3 separate regions of the Homo sapiens genome follow, and all the other regions are linked to region 3. The links are contacts of gene promoters, found by promoter capture Hi-C in blood cells and fetal thymus (Javierre and others, 2016). All regions are on one chromosome and are shown on one strand. The core of a region is centred on a gene start or on the middle of the fragment in contact, and the rest is flanking DNA. Distances in the headings are between cores, read along the strand shown.

Evidence for each region. Contacts are between HindIII fragments. The CHiCAGO score rates a contact against its expected background, and 5 or more counts as called.
Region 1: a contact is called between a fragment that was not itself captured here and the fragment with the promoter of ECRG4 in region 3, in 6 of 17 cell types (non-activated CD4 T cells, naive CD4 T cells, naive CD8 T cells and 3 more). The highest score is 8.7, in non-activated CD4 T cells.
Region 2: a contact is called between a fragment that was not itself captured here and the fragment with the promoter of ECRG4 in region 3, in 1 of 17 cell types (non-activated CD4 T cells). The highest score is 5.0, in non-activated CD4 T cells.

What each region holds. Positions count from the first base shown.
Region 1 is chr2:105,952,777-105,956,760 of GRCh38, reverse strand. The region is part of intron 1 of LOC105373531 (a long non-coding RNA gene); the gene reads right to left. Among named protein-coding and RNA genes, the nearest start is that of ECRG4, 110 kb to the left of the region's middle. The HindIII fragment of the contact is 1,147 bases long and covers 1,057-2,203 here.
Region 2 is chr2:105,990,668-105,994,683 of GRCh38, reverse strand. No RefSeq gene overlaps it. Among named protein-coding and RNA genes, the nearest start is that of ECRG4, 73 kb to the left of the region's middle. The HindIII fragment of the contact is 1,110 bases long and covers 744-1,853 here.
Region 3 is chr2:106,063,019-106,067,176 of GRCh38, reverse strand. ECRG4 (ECRG4 augurin precursor) reads right to left here and starts at 1,489. Exons shown (of 4, transcript NM_032411.3): 1 at 1,334-1,489. The coding sequence starts at 1,412. The HindIII fragment of the contact is 9,592 bases long and covers 566-4,158 here.

The DNA of each region.
Region 1 (3,984 bases), core at 381-2,880, 110 kb after region 3:
AATCATGGGAATTAGAAATAGAAAAGATCTGTTTACCTATAGGACATGATTTTAGATTCCTGTCTTATTCATGCAGTCATTCACTAAGCATTTATTGAACACTTATATTTAGAAACATCATCCCAAACTTGGAAATAAGAAGTGACTGACAGCATGTCCTTCCATTGTCATGCCATGACCTGCCAGGATTTTCAAACCTCTGGGAGAATAAATCTGTGTTTGACATTGTTGCTTACTGATTAGAGCCCAGTCTCTGTGATGTTACCTGTAGATTTCTGTCCATTAGAGAAGCTGTGGTTTCATTGCTCGGTAGAACATTAACCAATGTTCTATATAACCTAGCAATCATATTCTAACACTCTGTTCCCAAAAACCTTCTAGAAATACCCAATTCTTAAAAATGCTTTCTGAACAGGCATTACTATTATATGTGTTCCCTTTTTTGTAATGAAATCTCTCTTTGACACATGTATTCTAGATTGGTGTTTTAGTCTACTTGTGCTGCTGTAACAGAATACCACAGAAAGGTAGGTACTTTATAAAGAACAGAATTTTATTTCTACTCTTTCTGGGGTCTAGGAAGTCCAAGATTAAAGCACTGGCATCTGGTGTGAGCCTTCTTGCTCTGTTCTCACATGGCAGAAGTGGACGGGCAAGAGAGAACAAATGCCGTGTGCTGATGTGGCAGAAGAGCAGAAGAGCAAGCCAGCCAAACACAGCCGGAGCCCCTTTTATAAGAGCCTTAATCCCACTTACGGGAAAAAAGCTGCCATGGTCTAATCATCTCTTAAAGACCTCACCTTTTAATATGATCACATTGGCAACACTTGGATTTTGGAGGGGACACATTTAAACCACAGCAATTGAGATGACATCACATTTTTGACTTTTTGAAAGTTATACTCTGTGCTGTGAAAGGTTTACAGATATATAAATGACAACTCCTTGCCCTCAAAGTCTGTCCACAACAGCTGAATATTAGAAAGTGATCAGTGCCACAGGGAAGGATGGAGGAATTAGGAAGCAGAACAGAAGCTTGATTGGCAGCTGGAAGCTTAGGGAAATCTTTATGAAAGAAAGGGAATGCTTTGGCCAGCCCAGGCAGTGAGGAGAGGCACTGGGCTATGACATCCCTGACCTTTGGGGAAGTTTAATGTCATCTCTCTTCCTGTTATGTCTTCATCTTTTTTTTTCTTTTCTTTCAATCCCAGATCTTCCTTTTCCTTGCTCATCTTTGCCCTTCCTCAGCTGCTCCATTTCTCTTTCCTCCGGACCCCATTCTTCTTGCCACTTACTTCAGAAGATAAGTATTTGGAAGAACTAGGCTGGGACCTCTCTGCAGAGAGGGAGCTGAGCAGGGAGCCCATGTCACTCCCGGGGGCCTCCTGTGCTGTGGGTGGAAGGGAGCTTGTTTTAGAAGAAAAAGCTCCAGAGGATCAGAGGATGAAAAAAGAGCCAGGGAGTCAGGCAATCTACATTTATTTAAAATGGTTTCATGGAGTTGGCCATTCTCTTTAATAGGCAATTTAAAACAATATCAATATTTATGGGCATTTATGCAGCAGGTGCTGAGGCAGCCAGCACCTTCCCGAGGCAGCTAGGATTACAAAGACACTGGTCTGATCTTTTGCATGAGGAGAGCACATTGGCTCCCTGGAGCTGAAATCACTCTTCCAGGGCCCTGGGGGGCCATTTGGAGTTCAGGAAGTGGAACAAAACTCAATGGTCCCTAAGAACCCTGCCAGGTTAGTGCAGCTCCCTGAAGCAAGCTGCTCCTTTTCATCCTTCCCATCTATTAAGGCTCATTCTCTCTGAATAAGCCGGGGGGCCTCAGCACAGCACAGGGACCGCAGATCATTCTCCTAAAGATGAGCAAATGGCTCCAGGATTAGGACAGGGCAGAAACAAAGTCCCCACCTCCAAGTCTAAGCTGAACCTTAGCCTTGGAGTGCAATAAACACTCAACGACAGGGAGAAACAAACTCTAGGGGTGCCCTCCGGGTGACGCTTGGGCCAAGATCACTTAGGAAGCACCGTTTCATCCCCAGGCCTCATGGGTGTTTCAGAGACTGCTTTGCTTAGGCAGTTACAGGCTATCTGGCCAGTAGCCCCAAACAAAAGTTCTGCGATTTGCATCTTTAGCAGCGGACAATAAGAGATTTATGATATTCAGCAGAAGAGTGATCAGCCCCTATGCAAAGCTTCTCACAAGCGTGGTCTCTGAAAACCCCTTCCTTGATGAAAGGGATCTTTTTCAATGCTCTCCTCTTCTGTCTCCTCCTCTGGGCATGTAAATAAGACATCTCAGGCAGGATTCAGAAACACAAAAGCAATCACACAGCAGCTCCATGCTTGAGGAGCTTGCAGTCCAGCTGTGGATCCAGGCTCAGGAGACGGCGGTGCTTAGCTGGGCAAAGGACATTGCAGCCTCCAGGTGGTGAGGATCTGTGGCCCAGGCTTTGGGAGCAGCTCATTGAAAAGGATAAACTGTGGCAATCAGGAAGCAACTTCCAAAGAACCGATGTTCCTTGCTTAGGTGTCTCACACGCCATCAGGAGGACTGAAGATCATAGCTTTCCTTTCTTAAAATCTGTAGCAGACAGTGTTGATTTCCTACCCTGCCCATCCCTTACCACCTCAAAGCACCCCAGGGCAGCACCTGCATTCTTTTACCTGAGAAAGTGGGTTTCTCCTTGCAACCTACACAGAGGCATGGAGTGGGACAGCCTCCAACCCATGCCGAATGGTGGAGTCGTATAGGAAATACCCCAGCATCTTCACCCCAGGGCAAGAGGACTCAGAGGTGTGTGTTCCACTCCAGCTTCCTGAGCTCCAAGAGGGACTAAGCTCCTAGTGTCCAGGGCAGTAAGTGGCTTCACTTCCTTCCTGACAGACTTCCCTCCTCTCTCTCCCATTCCCACCGCCATCAGAGTTTTCTCCACCTTCATAGTAAACTTGCACTCCCATTCTTGTATCTGGGTCTGCTTCTGGGGCAGCACAAAGCGAAGACACCCCTACTTTTCCTTATTTCTCTCTTCCTTGAGATTCACATCCCTTACTCTAGAAAGTCTCCGAGGAAATCTTCTCCCCCAGCCCCAGGGAAAGTCATACTCCCCTCCCACAGGCAGGCAGGAGCAAAAGAAGGCAGGGAATATTTACCTTTCCATTCCTTTCGTCTGCTCATTTAAAATATAGCGCTAACCAAAGTCTGGGATTATGTGAAGAAACCAACGAAGGGAGGTGAATTGTGAGTGGAGTTTTGCCAAATAACAATAATAATAAATATCTAGTCAGGACCTATATCTTAGTCTGTTCAGGATGCCATAACTAAATACTATAAATTGGGTGGCTTATCAACAAGAGGAATGGGTTTGTGGAGGCTAGAAGTTCAAGATCAAGGTGCCAGCAGATGGAGTGTCTGCTGAGGGTGCTCTTCCTGGTTCATAGATGGCGTCTTCTTTAGTCCTCACTGGTGGAAGGGAAGAACTCTGGTCACTTTGGCCTCTTATAAGAGCACTGACTGCCCTCATGAGGGCCAACTTTCATGACCAAGTCCCCTTCCAAAAGCCCCACTCCCTAATACCTTGGGGATTAGGTTTCAGCATATGGATTTAGGGAGACATAACATTCAGACCATAGTAACCTAGTAACCTGCCTGATCAGGCCTCCCCTGGTGGCAGCAGGAGACCCAGTGGTTGAATCTGGAGTTCTGCTCCCCTCACCCAACTCCCACACTGCCTCCCTGGAAGGGAGAGAGGAGGAAAGGAGCTCTGGGCAGGAGAAGGGGTGAGGAAGGCAGGAGGAAGGGAGCTGGCCATGGAGCTGCCAGGGCTGGTAAAGGCACAACTGATGACTGTCATGCTTGGGAAAGAGGAGGGACCCATCTTAGGCTCAAGAAGGAAAGCCCTGGGGTTGTCTAGGCTCTGTCCCTTGGGGGAAGTGATGTTCATCTTGCGCTTGTGCAAAACACCAGCCCCAGCACCA
Region 2 (4,016 bases), core at 49-2,548, 72 kb after region 3:
GTGAAGGCCCCGAGCTCTGGGAGCCCACCATATTTATTGGTGATCAAAGAAGCAGGTGGTGAGGATGTGGGGGTTGAAAGGAAGTGGTGCATCAAGCACATGAGCTATAGCTGTGATGGTTTAGCATTTCCTTTGAAGTATATGGAACATATTCTGCCACTTGAGATAATGGGGAACATGTTCTTATAGTTTAAGATACAATCGTTTTATGAGCTTGGGAGTGCTAGAAGCAAGAAGCCAGCAAGTCTAGACCCATTCCAGAAGCCACGAGGGGTTTTATACCCTGAGCCCTGGATTCCATCCAAGCCACGAAGGGTTTTATGCCCTGGGCTTAGATTGTGGTGTGGCAGGGCAGACTTCCACCATTTAGCACAGAGCTTGGTGTTCCAAAGGCCATGAGGGGCTTTAGACCCTGAACCACAGACATGTTCCAAGACTCTTTTACATCATATCAGACATGCAAGCCCTGCCTCAGCTTCTCCCAACATGCCCCCCTTTTTTTTCATAAAACCACCACAGCTATCATTGCTTGTTCTCGACAGCAGCTTTCTCTCCAGAGACAGCTTCCACATCTGCAGACTAAAAGGAGACAGCACAAGCACATAATTATTAGGATAGAATTTTCAAACGTAGAGCTTCCAATGGCCTTAATCCATTTCATAGGATTGATTGCAGACAATCCATCAGCTGCCTTGTTCAAGATGTCAGTTCCAGGGTGCAGGACTAAGTGAGCCTGAGAAGCTTCAAAAACCTGCTCTTTTAGCTTCACAATATTGAGGGTGAGATTTTTCATCTCTGCTCTCCAGATGGCATTTAATCTTTTCCCATCGGAGTCCTGTTTCATTATAACTATGGAGAGTAATACAAAAGTCAGATGTATTCCAATCACATTGCATGTGGATTCTACTTTCTAAATTCATAATACAATCTCCCATCCAAATCACTGTCTGATGGAGATCATTAATTTGGTTAACTCTTTTTGATCTATTTGAGCCTGAGAATTCCATAGTTTTGTGGAATTCATTTGCCACTTATTGACAAATTCAGCAGTTTGCACAGATGAGTGTAGAGCCACACCAGCTACTGCAGCAGTAGTAGTAACAGCAATGAGGCCAATTATAGCAAATATAAGAGCAACTATAAATCCTCTGGAATGGGATAAGCGTTTTTTAAGGATCTTAGTTACAATATGAATAGATGGTGATGCCTCCCATGGTCTATTTAGGGACACAGGGATCCAAACTCCTTCCCTGGTTCTAATTAATAAAATGGTTTGATTTTTATCAAAGGTTGAGTTAATGCAGGTAAACAAGTGACATTTGGAGCATGTAATAAAGTGTGTATTTATATCAAGAGTAACAGTTCCTATTGCTAGCATAAAAGGTGGCTGAACACAACTCTGAATCCAGAAGGTCCTGTTGGAAAGAAAAGAAAGAACATATTTATTTTTACCTCCCTCCCTGCTATACTTATTATATTTGCCCTCCCAAATTTTGATTGAACTTTGATCTATAGTTAATTTCCATAATTCTGAATGTTCTTGTCCTATGGCAGGAGATATCATTTTTGGACTAGGGGCGACAATGCCAGCAGGACTCCATATGATAGGGAAATCAGCTTCTGTCTGAACATACTGTGTATGATTCCATTGCCAATGATTCCACTGGTTTATTACATTTGTTCAACAAGAGGGCCTTGCAGTGCAATTGTCTTTAAAAATCCTCTTTGGGGACCAATCAATGACGATTCCATAGGAATTATTTTGTAGCACCTCAGCCTTACTTGCTATACAATCTTCCCAAGTTCAAGTGTCCACACCTTCAAACCAAACTCTGTTTTGCCATATTCAAGCTTATTCAGATGGAACTGCAGAATTTTAGGTTTGGAATGATTATATTTTAAACTATGCCCTGAAATCATGTGATTTATTTTTTCCAGGAACTATTGCCAACCAGGCTCGTGTGATAATTTGTAAGCATCCAACAGCAGGTCCCAGGCATATTGGAGGATATTTACATCCTATGGATATATTCATTTTCATCCCTTCCTCATTAGGATGCATTGGCCCTCGGTTATCTATGGGCTCAGGCATCCAGCTACTGTTGTTGGTGTACACCTCAATAACAGGATCCATCCAACTCACAGACCTAATTAAAGGAGGAAATGGGACATATGCCCAGTAAGTGAAATCTGAGTTGCTCCTAAAGTAGGGAAGCTTACCACCATGGTGAGTACCACCAGCATGGCCACCATCAGGTTACTAGTTGTTTATGTTCTGTGCTTTCAAGTTGTCCTCTGCCATCTGTGCCAACTTCTTGATTTGTCCTCATGTTGGAGGATTTGCCTGATGAGTATTCTCAGTCTTCTCCTTCATCTCTGAGATGTTTATTCATGCCATCACTCGTATTGGGAATTCTGGCTCTTCCCATAGTCCTCTCTTCCTGCCGTGGCTCATGATAGATCTTCAGATGTTTGGTGGGCACTCCATTGTTGCAATAAATCTCTACCCCATAAATTGACAGGAATAGGTGTAATAATAGGTTGAATTGTCCCTTCCTGGCCATCTGGCCCTTGACATGGTAAAATCAAGGAACTTTGGCAGTCCGTATGCCAACAATACCCATGGAAGTCTTTTGTTTAGGCAAGTGTCAGGGCCATTGATTTAAAGCAATAATTGAGACATCAGCTCAAGTATCTACTAGTCCTTCAAAGTCCTTTCCCTGAATAGTTACTGTACAAATAGGTTTTTTGTCAGACAAAAAACCTAATTGATTAACCCAATATACAGCCTTCCCTGCTGGATTAGTACTACCAAAGCCTCCTGTTCTTTTCACTGTGCTGCTTCCTAGTTTTGTGTAAGGTAACAGCAACAACTGAGCAATTCTTTCTCCTGGGGAGGCAGACCACGGAGTTGAGGAACTAATAACTAGTTGAATCTCTCCAGTATAATCAGAATCAATTATTCCTGTACGTACAGTGACACCTTTCAAATTTAGACTAGACCTCCCAAGTGGTAGACCAACTGTTCCTGAGTGTAAGCGTCCCCTAACTCCTGTAGAGACCTTTTCTGGTGGCTCTCCAGGAAGCAGGGAGATGGGAATTGTGCTGCAAAGGTCTATGGCAGCACTGCCTGCTGTGGCAGGGGAGAATTCTATGTTTGTAAGGGCACTGGCTGTGCCAGATATGCCTCAGTTTGTTGAGGGGCCCGAGGTGGGCCCCTTTTCCTGTTTCCAGAAAGAGGTTGTCCATCCCTGTAACATTTATCCTTTCCCATGCCCGTAAGCACACAGAGCGCAGCTGAACAATGGCAACATCCTCCATTACTGCTTGATTTTCTAATCAGCTCCAATTAGGGTCGACTCCCATTAACTGTTCAAAGCAAACAGGCACAGGTGGCTGCACTTGTGTGTTTTCCCTTGCCTGATTTTGAGCTTTGTCAGCCCACCAGGTTTTAAACTGTAAATGCTGAGATGGAGTGAAAACAGATTTTGTTAAAGTATTCCAATCATATGGTATTAACCTATTATCAAGAGCCACATTTTTTAACAAAGTTTGCACAAAAGGAGAGTTTGGCCCATGTTGACTAATGGCCTGCTTGAATTCCTTTAACAACTTAAATGAAAAGGTGGCCCAATTAGCTATATTCTGTCCTACTTGCTGGATTATAGTAACTGGAAATTGCCATACTTCAAGGTCTCCGTCGGCTCCAGCCTTTTGAATAGAGTTTTGTATGGCACCACCAATTGCTCCACGTTTTAATGTTGCAGCTACAGGAACGGTAAGTTTTGCAGCTAATTCATCTTCTCACCCATTAAGGGGAGAGGGAGGAAGTGGTCATTCACTTATTTCAGCAGGTGGAGCTGACGGGCTAGTAAAACATACTTTTTCTGTTTCCCTTTCTTTTCTTTAATTTCCTCCAGTTTCTGTTCTTCACATTTAGAATCTGAAGTTAGTTTTTTACACTCGTCCTCCCCTTCCTCATGTGAATCTGCCTCATCATCTGTTTGAAATGGCTC
Region 3 (4,158 bases), core at 240-2,739:
GGGATTACAGGAACGTGCCATCACGTCTGGCATTTTTAGTAGAGACGGGGTTTCTCCATGTTGGTCAGGCTGGTCTCGAACCCCCGACCTCAGGTGATCTGCCCCCCCCCCCCCCCCGGCCTCCCAAAGTGCTGGGATTACAGGTATGAACCACCAAGGCCGGCCCAGATGTGCTTCTTAAAGTGGCAAGAACAAAGAGTGGGAGGCAGGTAAACCATACAACGGGAAATGACTGATTAGCTTCGCCTGTGATTCTAAGGTGGAACAATAATCCTCCCCACCTGAACAGACCTCACCACGCCTCCTGCTGTTTTAGCAACCCCGGGGCTCCATCCCAGGGCTCCTACTGAATGTCCCCTGCCTCTTCTCACCTCGAGTTCAGTTTCCATACCTGTTTCGAATGAGCAAAATACAGAAACTGAGCAACCGAGTGAGCCTCCCTTTTACATTAGGCAGTGCCCAGCTGCTTTGCAGTGGGACAGCGCCAGTCTCAGGCTCTTGGGCAAGTCACTTCATACACCAGTAACTCTGAGGTAACAATCCCTGCCTCCCCTAGTTGTAAGCTTCAAAGGCAGTCATGTGTCCTTGAGGCCACTTGTGAACCATAAATGTTCCTCCTACCCAGTGAAGGTGGTAACTCAGGACAAACCACGGCTTCAGATTATGGTTCCTAAAGTGGGGCCTGTGGAGCCCAGCGATCAGATATCGGAGCACCCATCATTCTGGGTGTGCGTGTGAATGCACGTTTTACAGAGAGCGAGCAGAGAATTTCAGAGTTTTCAACCGATTCGCTGGGAGCTCCACGAAGCAGGAAAGATTAAGCATTACTCCTTTAAGAGCCTTTCCCCTCTCTGGGGTGTGAGGCCTGTGCCCAGCTTTGCAAATTGCAACTTGACCCAGCTGGGAAGCGCAAGTCAACTTGGTTGCTAAGCGACTGCCTGGAAGGGAATGGCGGTGATGGTGCCATTTGCCTCCTCTGGGTTACCAGCTGCGTAAAGCCCCCACAACCCTTTTGCCCCTTACGTTAAGCCACGAAACACTACTTGCCCACCCTTCGGACGCCTGGCCCTCCTTGCCCAAGGTTGCCCGGGAGATCTGAGACCCTCCCCTTGACCCCGGTACTCTCTCCACCCTCACAAGGGCACCACTTCGCACTTGTGCGAGTGCAAAACCCCAGACCCGGTCCTCTACCACCCCTTGGCCCTGCCTAGGCTAAGGATGGGTCCCTACGCCGCCACCCCATCACCGATCGCTCTCCCCGGGCACCATGGAAGCGCCACATGGGGCCAACCCCTGGTGCCGCTATCAATCAGCCTGGCATCGCCCCGCTCACCTGGGCCCCAGCACAGGAGCAGGAGCAGCGCCAGCCCGGTCAGGGCCAGGACAGCAGGCCGCGCGGGGGAGGCAGCCATGGCGGCGGGGCGCGAGCAGGAGGGCGAGGGGCGCACTTCGAGGTGCTGCGAGGGAGAACCGGGCGCGGGAGAGGGGTGCGAGCGGGCAGGCGCGGCCGCGGGTTATCCCTGCGTCGCTGCCGGGGCGGGACCCAGCGGGTGGGCGCCGCGCCAGAGGGCTGAGGGCCAAGCGGCTGCGCCCAGCGCACGGGCGAGTACCACCGAGGTCCTCTCTCCCGCCCCGGCCCCAAGGGGAACGCAGCCCCTGGGCTCCAAGGCCAAGGATGCTTGGCCACGGAGAACCGCCGGCGGCGGGGGCCGCGTGGCCAGCGCTGCCCGCAGCGAAAGCGGTTAGGACAAGCTGGGTTCCGGAGACCCAAGGAAGGGCAGAAGGCATCGGGAGAAGGGACGAGGCCCCCTGGCCACTCAGAGGGAGGACTTGCCGGATCCCAGCGCTGGGGTGTCTCCTTGGCTCCCCCACTTCCTCCGCCCGCCCCAGCCGCGCCACTGTTCCCCTTACTCCTCACCCCTTTCTTCCCTATCTCCCTCCCTCCCTGCTTGGGGGCCTTGCTTCTGCCTGGTTTGTAAAGTGGGCTTTGGAATTTCCTTAGTTCAGAGCTGCTCTTAAGGATGCCTTAGGCGGGGCTGTTTTTGAGATAGTTTGAAAGATTCCACAGTCTGGGTTCAGAGCTGCAGTCCGGGAAATCGTCTCACCCAAACTTCTCCAATAGAAAAGCCTTTGAGAAACCAGGAACCTGGTGCCCTGCAGCTGTGAGCAAAACCACTGCTTCCCTTTGCCCGCTCTGTAATCTGGGCACACTTCAGCGAGCGATGTTAAGGTGAGACCCAAGGGAAACGCAGAACTGCATCCCAGTAACTGGCCTGTTCAACTGTAGAGGACACGTGAAAGGAGGCGTAGTGAACAAAAACTAGAACAACTTTATCCCAACGGACTCTGAGCGGGTCACCTAATTATTCTCTCCAGGCCTGGGCTACAAAAGGATGGAGATGTGAGATTACCTTTCCTGTCTTCCCATCTCAGATCTGCCCTGAACTGAGCTGATTACCTCTTTCCTTCACCAAGGTTCTCACTTATTTTCCCCTCCCTGAGACGGAGTTTCACTCTTGTTGCCCAGGCTGGAGTGCAGTGATGGGATCTCAGTCACTGCAACCTCCAACTCCGGGGTTCAAGCGATTCTCCTGCCTCAGCCTCCTGAGTAGCTGGGATTACAAGGCATGTGCCACGAGGCCCAGCTAATTTTGTATTTTTAGTAGAGAAGGGATTTTACCATGTTGGCCAGGCTGGTCTTGAACTCCTGAACTCAAATGATTCACCCGCATCGGCCTCCCAAAGTGTTAGGATTACAGGTGTGAGCCACCACACCGGCCAGTATTTTTATACCCTCCAGTGGTAAGCACTTACTGTCTCTCCATATAATTAGCTCTCCATGCAATGCAGTTGAATTTCTCCAGCAGGAAGGAGAAAGAAGTCTTCTAACATTGAGCTAGTAAAGACAGATGGTGGCCAACCAAAGAAAAAAGTGCAAAGTGGGTCTGAGTTAGATCATGATACTGCCCAGGGTGTCAGAGAGAATCAGAAGGATAATGTTACACATCTAGCTATCTTGGGGAAGTGCTTCTAAACCCTTGAGGAAACTGTAGAATAGGGGATAGGAGTTTTAAAAGTAACCAGGCATATATTTACTTTTGCCTGAGGACAAGAAATTTATCATTAGAAAGAAAAATCAAAGCACATAAAAAGCCAATATTCTGTTTGGATTGGTTTAGAACATACATTAAACATAATGGCTGTAATCTTATTTATCCTGTGGAGATCATCCCCCTTACCCCAAATTGCTACCAATATCTACTTCTAATATGACATTCAAATTCTCTTCACTTAAGGGGGATCATGGTGGCTCACGCCTGTAATCCCAGCACTTTGGGAGGCTGAGGAGGGCAGATCACTTGAGGTCAGGAGTTTGAGACCAGCCTGACCAACATGGTGAAACTCCCTCTCTACAAAAATGCAAAAATTAGCCAGGCGTGGTGGTGCGTGCCTGTAGTTCCAGCTACTTGGGAGGCTGAGGCAGGAGAATCACTTGAATCCAGGAGGCGGAGGTTGCAGTGAGCCGAGATTGCGCCACTGCACTCCAGCCTGGGTGACAAAGCGAGACACTATCTAAAAAAAAATAAATTATCTTCACTTAATCGGGATATGACCAGAGAGTGTTCTGTAGCAGGGAGCGTCTCACTCTGCCTTCAGAGGGGCCGCTAAACTCATGTGTTCAGCCTGGAGACACTATGTCAGTTCTTATGCTGATATCTAAGTTCCTTTTCATCTGTCTATTTGTTCAACGGTATTTACTTACTGTCTTAGTCCATTTGGGCTGCTAAACAAAATCCCATAAGCTGGGTAGCTTATAAGCAACAGAAATGGATTTTGCACAGTTATGGAGGCTGGAAATTCAAGACTAAGGCCCCAGCAGATTTGGTGTCTGGTCAGGCCCTGCTTCCTGCTTCCTAGATGGCACCTTCTTGCTGTGTCCTCATACGGTAGAAGGGGTGAGGGAGCTCTCTGGGGCTCTTTTATGAGGTCACAAATCCCACTCATGAGGGATCCATCCTCAGTACCTGATCATCTCCCAAAGGCCCCACCTCCTAACACCTCACTTCAGGAATTAGGATTTAATGTATGAATTTAGGGGAGACACAAAAATTCAGTCTGTAGCACTTATAAAATGCTAGCTACATGTGAGACACTATT